3 separate regions of the Homo sapiens genome follow, and regions 1 and 3 are each linked to region 2. Evidence: promoter capture Hi-C in 16 types of primary human blood cells and fetal thymus (Javierre and others, 2016). All regions are on one chromosome and are shown on one strand. The core of a region is centred on a gene start or on the middle of the fragment in contact, and the rest is flanking DNA. Distances in the headings are between cores, read along the strand shown. Region 1 overlaps DPF3 (double PHD fingers 3). Region 2 holds the start of DPF3 (double PHD fingers 3). Region 3 overlaps DPF3 (double PHD fingers 3).

Region 1 (2,735 bases), core at 96-2,595, 130 kb before region 2:
ATACAATGATGGCCGGGCGCGGTGGCTCATACCTGTAATCCCAACAATTTGGGAGGCCAAGGCAGGCACATCACCTGAGGTCGGGAGTTCGAGAACCGCCTGACCGACATGGAGAAACCCCATCTCGACTAAAAATACAAAAATTAGCCAGGCATGGTGGCGCATGCCTGTAATCCATCAACACATCTACTCTGACTCTGAACTCCTCCTGCCTTCCTTTTATAAGAACCCTTGTGATTACATTAGGCCCACCTGGATAATCCAAGATTATCGCACCATCTCAAAATCCTTAATCCTGTCTTCGAAGTCCCTTTTGCCATGTAAGGTAACATACGCACAGATTTCAGTAATTAAAATGTGGATGTCTGAGGTGAGGAGGGGCCTTATTCTATTAATCACAGTACTATTGTAGACTCCTTATACTATTCATGAAATAGAATAATATAATTTGAAAGTTAACTATAATTAAAGATGTACACTATAAACACTAAGCAATCACTAAAATAACAACAAAACAAGAGTTATAGTTAATAAACCAACAAAAAAGAGAGAAAACATAATCACATTAAATGTAAATTGCCTAAATACCCCTACTTAAAAAAGATTGTCAGATTACATGTAAAAAGCATAACACAACTATATGCTGCCTATTAAAAAACTACTTTTAATATAAAGATGCAAATAGGCAAGAAGTAAAAGAATGGAAAAAGATATTTCATGTTAATATTAATCAAAAGAGAGCTGGAGTGGCTATATTGGAATTAGACAAAGGAGATTTCAGATAAAATAATATTAATAGAGATTAAGAGGATTATTTTATAATGATAAAGGAATCAATTTATTGAGGATATAACAATACTAAATGTTTATACACCTAATAACAAAGCTTCAATATACATGAAACAAAAAGTAATAGAATTGTAAGGAGAAATAAGCAAACCCACAATTATAGTCATAAGTTTCAATACCCTACCTCTCAATGATTCATAGAATAAATAGAAAATAAGGATGTAGAAGATTTAAAAAACATTATCAACCAATTTGACCTAATTGATATTTATAGAACATTCCAAACAACAACAGCAAAACACAATTCTTTTCCTGAGCAAACAGAATATTTACCAAGGTAGACCACATTTGGTGCCATAAAACAAGTTGCAATAAATTTAAAAGAATTTGAACCATAAAAATTATTCTCTGACCATTTGGAATTAACATGGAAATAAATAATGGGCACAACTTTGGAAACGTCCCAAGTGTTTGGAAACTAAACAATACAGTTCTAAATAATCCATGAGTAAAAGAAGAAACCAAACAGAAAAATATTTTGAACTGAATGAAACTAAAAACCCTATATCAAATTTTTTAAATGAGGCTTACATAGTATTTATGGGGAAATTATATCAGAAAATGATGTAGTAGAAAAGAAATATCTTAAATCAATGACCTGTTTACACCTTAAGAAATAGATAAACCTACTATGTACCATAAAAATTAAAAAATTAAAAGAAATAAGAAACAGAAGAGCAAATTAAATCCAAAGTAAATAGAAGGAAATATAAAGATCAGAGCAGAAAAAACAATTCTACCAAAAGCTATTTATTTGAAAAGATCAATAAAATTGATAAACCTCTAGTCAGAATGATGAGGTAAAAAATAACATTCAAATTAACAATATAATGAGTAAAATAATATGCCACCACAGATTCTACATATATTAAAAGAGTAATGCAGCAATATTATGAACAACTTTGTGCAACCAATTAGGAGAATGTAGATAAAAGAAACAAAATCACATACTAACAAAGCTTACTCAAGATGAAATAGATAACCTAAATAGCCCTATATCTATAAAATAAATTAAATTTATAATTAAAAACATTACCTCAAGGAAACTGCCAGATCCAAATGGATTCACTGGTAAATGTTATAAAATATTTATGGAAGAAATAATACCAATTCTATATAAAGTTTCAGAAAAGTAAAAATGAAGAAATACTTCCCAACTCATTATATGAGACCAGCATCACCCTGACACCCAAACCAGACAGACATTACAAGAAAACTATAGACTAATATCTCTCATAAACATAGATGCAAAAACTCTAATAAAACTTGAGCAACATGAATCTAACAATACATTAAAAAGATAAAATAGCATAACAAAGTGGGGTTTATCCTAGGAATGTAATGTTGGTTTAACATTCAGAAATCAATCAATGTAACTCATTATGTTAAATGTAAACTTAAGATATTAAATTTAATCAACCATTCCTACATAATGAAGCTTCCATGAACAAAAGAAAAACCACATGATCATCTCAATAGACACAGAAAATCAGATGACAAAATCAAATATCCATTTGTGATTTAAAAAAAAAAACTCTCAAACTAGAAATAGAAGGGAGCATCCTCAATCTGATAAAGAATATCTACAAAAAATTCTACAGCTAATGTCATACTTAATAACAAAAAAATAAATAAATGCTTTCTCTTTAAGATCAGGAACAACATAAGGGTGTCCAGTCTCACCACTTTTACCTAATATTATGTTGGAGAGTCTAGCCAGTGCAAGAGACAAATAAAATAAATAAAAGTTATTCATATTAAAAGAAAGAAGTAAGTTTTCTTTATTTACTATTCAGGTTATCTACTAGCAAACTAACAGATAATCAACTATATAGAAAATGCTACAGAATCTATAGAAAGCTATTAGAACTAATGAGTTTAGCAAG
Region 2 (2,769 bases), core at 193-2,692:
TAAAAGAACCAGGGTCGACAGCGGCCACGCACCAGGGAGAATTCGGCATGAACCGCCCCCCACCCGACCTGCACCTCCCTCTGCCACTTCGCCTGCGGCTTCGTCCGGGCGGGGAAGTCCCGGTCGAAGGGGTGAGGACCCCCCAGCCCACCTCGGATACGGAGGGAGCCACCCTCTGCCGACATCACCCAATAGCACCCCTTTCAGAGCGACACTAGTTTTCCGAGGCCACCCCTGGCTCCGCGATCGCGAGCGGACTTGGCGGCTTAACAGTTCCACTGACTGGAAGGAAGGAAGGAAGGAAGGAAGGAAGGAAGGAAGGAAGGAAGGAAGGAAGGAAGGAAGGAAGGAAGGAAGGAAGGAAGGATGAAAAGGAGGAGGAAGGCAGGCAGGCAGAAATTGGCTGTTGGACCCGGGGCTGGCCCCCGCGAGTCCTCGCCCGGCCCGCCCCACTCTGTCCAGGATCTGGGCAAGCGCTCAAAGTCTCCCCGAGGCGGCCAGAGGCACCTGCCCCTCGCCCGGCCGGGAGCAGACGCTGCCCCCTCGGGCCAGGAGCCCCAAAACCGCCTCTCCGCCTGCCTCAGCGCCTCACCCAGAGGTGGCGAGAACACCATTCATAAGACCTGCGGCTTCCCTGCCTCCAAATCCACCCCAAGTTAACCCGAGTCGTTAATCCACTAAAGCCAGCTCGCTCGCAAATACACGAGCAGACACACGCTCGATCGCCCGGAGCGCCTCCGAGATCCGGGGGCTGCCGGGGAAAGCCCGGGGCGACCACCTGGGCCCCAGCACGCCCGGGACCCGCTGCTTCCCCCGCGGTGCTCCAACTCCGGAAGGTTTGCACAAACTCCCCGCGAGCGATCGGAAGGCGAAGAGCGCCCTGCAAACTCCGGAGCCTCCGCGGTCCGTCCGCTGGACCCAGCGGACCCAGCGGCGGGGCGGGGGCCGCGGGCTCGGGGGCGCGGGGCTCGGCCAAGTACACCGAGGCGGCCACTGCCCGACGCTCGCCCCCCGCCCAGCAGCCCCCGAAGCCGCGCTCCCTGCCCGCGAGGCGGGGGACTCCGGGGACCGCGCCGTCCCCGAGCTCCCGCGACCCTCCTGCTGTAGAGCGCTCGAGCGCCGGGCTTCTCCGCCTGCAACCCCTATATCTGGCTCTCTCTGCAATTTAGCAGAACACAAATGTAACAATTTTCTTCTTGTTAATTGCATCTCCTGACATTTCTGCGCGTTGGGGGAAAAAAAGAAGATGAAGAAGTAAGAGCTGAAAGAAGAGAGAAGCCCCGCCGCGGCTGGAGGCGCCTGCAAGCGCAATGCTCTGGCAGCGCTCGCCACGCAGAAGGCGCCTTTTTTTTCATATTGAAACCACGCGGAATATGTACATTTTTTAGTCTTACTTACGCTTTCAGGGGGTTGTGAATGACAGTCGCCATTTTGCTACAATGTAACAGAATATTGTCTCAGAGTTCTAAAGGTTCGCTCAGGGGAAGCGACGGGCCAATCACAGCGCGGGATACCGGCCCGCCGGCCAATCGGCGCTGCTGGTAGCTAGGTGGGCGGGGCCTGCGCCGTGGTAGTTATTAGGAGAGCTGTCAAAGCCCAGAGGTCACTCCCTTTTGTAGAGCCCGAGAGCCAGCAGGTCTTAAAGGGGCAGTACAGCGCTGGTAGCTCCTTTTCGGGCTGGGGAAAGTGGAGACGCACGGGAGAGTATTATAGTTTGGTTTAACTCCCTACTTTTCTAAATAACTGCAGAAGAGTTTGCGCTCCCGGACAGAAATATTTAAATATTGCCAGCAAGCCACTGAATCCTATTCATTAGCCTTTGGCTTTGCGTATCAACATTTTTAATCCCCCAAAGGGTAAATCCCCGTGTTTCAGTGCAAAAGTTGGAAGGCTGCCGTTTCGTGTTAACAAATTACTACATGTGCTCTGCCGTTTGCTAATGCTCTGGGTCCTGCCGCTTTTTAATATTCTTATTCCCGAAGTGTTCTCTTTATCTCGGCCACCTTCCTCTCTCGCTTCTTGGAACTGTCGCTGCTGTTCCTGGCGACTCCAGGACAGCAACTCACCCTCCCCCTGGAACGTCTCAATGTCAGGCTCGCTCCCTCCTGCAGCCAGGGCTTTCCTTACGTAGTGCAGGGGGGTTACTCTGCGCGGTTCCCCGCTACCACCCCTTCGGTTCTTCCCTCTACACCAGAAACTTCCAAAATGCTCAGATTCCTGCTAGGTGGTGGGACCTGGAGCTCTGATCTTTAGGCTTAGGGGTAGGGAGGACTTAAGGCAACCTTTGGAAACTTTCTACTGCTAGGAAGCAAGTGACTAGGCAGAAGTTGTAGAGCCTGGACTGGGTGTTATCAGGGTCCCTTTAGAGGAGTGGCACACGCGATTCTGGCGTCACCTTTCACTACTTAGATAGAAGGTGGAAAGAATTTGCTAATGAATAATCCGATGTGACCCGAGGCGTCCAATGAGTCTGTGTCTGCTTCAAGTCAGTGTGAACTCTTCACTGGCGAGCCCCTGACAAAATTGGGAGACTTCTGCGAAGTCAGGCTTCCACTGGGCACCGGGAAGCTCTGGGGGGATGAAATCGCATTAAATCGCGAATAGGGTAGGGGCCTCGTTAGCATACAGAAGTCTGGCTACCATTCCAAAGCTGTTTAATCAGATCAAATAGCTAAGATAGTGGGGGAGGGGTGGCAAGGGGAGAGAAGTTGCCAAATTGCCAGTTCTTCAAAGCTATGCCCTCTCGCTTCCTTTTGCTCCTCTCAAGAC
Region 3 (2,700 bases), core at 186-2,685, 210 kb before region 2:
GGATTCAACAAGCCCCTTGTTTTGCTTTGCCCAGCCGTGCCCTCTCAACCCTCTTCACTAGCACCACTGAACTCTGTCTGCAAGGGGACCAGCATTTTCTTTGTTCTTCAGACAGAAAGCCGTATTTAAGAAAAGGGAAAGCATGAGCCTTCTGCTTTAGACCTGAGGATTTGGAAGGAATCAAGAGACCACAGAGTCTTGGGGCAGCACAGCCTGAGGATGGTGGCACACGCAGGGGCGCACTCCAAAAGCAGGCCGGGAAGTTGGTGCTGAGAGTCAGAGACGTCTGCCCTACATGGGATAGAGCATTAGGAAAAGAGCAAAAACCAAGGCTGCCCCTTCAATTTGACAGTACAACCTAACTCCTGGCCAGTTACCTGGCTCAGTGCATCCAAAAGAAAAAAGGAATTAAAAGGAAGTTGACTGACTGAACATCAGTCTTGGAAAGCTAGATTTCTGTAAGGTAGTGGTTTACCTGGGAACTTGTCAAAAATGCAAATTCCCAGTCAGGCACAGTGGCTCATGCCTGTAATCCCAGAATTTTGGGAGGCCAAGGCAGGTGGATCACTTGAGGTCGGGAGTTCGAGACCAGCCTGGCTAACATAGCAAAACCCCGCCTCTACTAAAAATACAAAAATTAGCTGGGTGTGGTGGTGCACACCTGTAATCCCAGCTACTCAGGAGGCTGAGGCAAGAGAATCACTTGAACCCAGGAGGTGGAGGTTGCAGTGAGCCGAGATCGCACCACTGCACTCCAGCCTGGGTGACAGAACAAGACCCCATCTCAAAAAAAAAAAAAAAAAAAGCAAATTCCAGGGCCTGAATTGCTGAATCAGAAACTCTGGGGGTGGGATCCAGTGGGTGGGCTGTGCTTTAACAAATGCTCCAGGTGATTCTGATGCAGCCTCAAGCTTGAGAAACATGGCTTTAATTGGTGTGACAGTCATGTCACCCGGAAGTCATTCACTTAATCTTCATCATAGCCTATGAGATAGATGCCATTAATGATCTGATGTTACATAGTGATCCATGAGGCATATGGAGGCTATGCAGCTCAGCTAAGGTCACACGTTAGTCAGTGGCTCACTTGGCTCTGAACCCAAGCAACCGCGCACCTGAGGGGAGGTGAGTCGGAGAGGTGGACACGCAGGGCCTCACAGGCTAGGGCTTCCCAGATTTTGCTGTGCAAATCATTTGGGGATCTCATTAACAATCAGGTTGGAATTCATAGATCCAGGGTACAGCCTGAGATTCTACATGTCTTAAAAGCTCCCCTGGTAGGGTGGCCACGCATCCAGGTTTGACTGGGACAGAGGGTTCTAGGGCGTGGGGCTTTCAGTGCTGTAGCTGGGCAAACCTGGACAAGCTGTCACCAAGCCCCAGGTGCTTCTGACCACACTGTCAGATGCAAAACACAGACCCACAAGATGAGGAGTTTGGGTTGTATTCAAACGTGATGAAAGTGTTGAGAGCATGAGAGTGACATCATCTGCTTTATATTTTACATATATATATATTTTCTTAGAAACAAGATCTCTCTCTGTCTCCCAGACTGGAGTGCAGTGGCACAATCATGGCTTACTGCAACCTCAACCTCCTGGCTTCAAGCAACCCTCCCACCTCAGCCTCCCGAGTAGCTGGGATTATAGGCATGCACCACCACACCTGGCTAATTTTTGTATTTTTAGTAGAGATGGGGCTTCACCATGTTGACCAGGCTGGACTCGAACTCCTGAGCTCAAGAAATCTGCTCAGCTCAGCCTCCCAAACTGCTGGGATTACAGGTATGAGCCACAGCCTGCTTTAGAGGCTGGGAGACCAATCAAAAAAGTTTTAACAACCCAGGCAGAAGCCAGGGGTGGCCAGAAGATAGAGAGAGGGAGAAAATGTAGGGTATATTTTGGAAGACTGAAGGAAAACCAAGAGGCAAGGATGAATCCTAATATTTCACTTCAGGCTCAAGCTTTTTTTTTTAAAAGAGCAAGTTTAGAAGAAAAAAAAAATGAGAGCCAGGAAAGACAGTGAGACACAGAATGAGAGAGAAAGACTCAGGAAAATTATTGAATAGAATGATGTGTGATTTTTTTTTCTGTAGGAAAAAAACTCATTTACCAATTAAAGTATGACCTAGAATTTGTAATGCAGGGGTGGGGTCTCTAAAACATCCCAAACAGCCTAAGTTAGTAAAGAGCTTTGAAGAGTAAATGTGCCTACTATGGACTGAAGTGTGTCCCTCATCCCCAAAATTCATATGTCAGAGTCCTAACCCCCAAAGGGATGTTATTTGGAAAAGGGTCTTTGGAAGGCAATTAGGTTCAGTGGGGTCATGAGGGTGGGGTCCTCGTAATGAAATTAGTGCCCTTATTAGACACCAAAGAGCTTGTTTCTCTCTCTCCACCCGTACACACCAAAGAAAGGCCATGTGAGGACACAATGAGAAAGCAGCTATCTGCAATCCAAGGAGAGAGCCCTCACCACACTCTGACCCTACCAGAACCTTGATCTTGGACTTCCAGTCTCCAGAATTGTGAGAAATAAATTCCGGTTGTTTAAGCCACCCAGTCGATGGAATTTTGTTAAGACAGTGCCTATTAACATGTTCATCTCTTTTGAAAAGCCACAATGCAGCATGATGCATTAGACAACTGGTCTTGAGGCAAAAGTTAAGGGACATCGGTAGGACCATGACAAAGATCCAAG

What was found. The method cuts DNA at HindIII sites, captures the fragments that hold promoters and counts their contacts. A CHiCAGO score of 5 or more calls a contact.
Region 1: a contact is called between a fragment that was not itself captured here and the fragment with the promoter of DPF3 in region 2, in 1 of 17 cell types (endothelial precursors). The highest score is 7.9, in endothelial precursors.
Region 3: a contact is called between a fragment that was not itself captured here and the fragment with the promoter of DPF3 in region 2, in 1 of 17 cell types (endothelial precursors). The highest score is 9.2, in endothelial precursors.

What each region holds. Positions count from the first base shown.
Region 1 is chr14:72,760,179-72,762,913 of GRCh38, forward strand. All of the region lies in intron 2 of DPF3 (double PHD fingers 3), which reads right to left. Among named protein-coding and RNA genes, the nearest start is that of DPF3, 130 kb to the right of the region's middle. The HindIII fragment of the contact is 922 bases long and covers 885-1,806 here.
Region 2 is chr14:72,892,659-72,895,427 of GRCh38, forward strand. DPF3 (double PHD fingers 3) reads right to left here and starts at 1,443. Exons shown (of 11, transcript NM_001280542.3): 1 at 1,399-1,443. The coding sequence starts at 1,430. RefSeq lists an enhancer at 1,403-1,697. The HindIII fragment of the contact is 4,463 bases long and covers 1-2,769 here.
Region 3 is chr14:72,682,541-72,685,240 of GRCh38, forward strand. The region is part of intron 7 of DPF3 (double PHD fingers 3); the gene reads right to left. Among named protein-coding and RNA genes, the nearest start is that of MIR7843, 170 kb to the left of the region's middle. The HindIII fragment of the contact is 1,052 bases long and covers 910-1,961 here.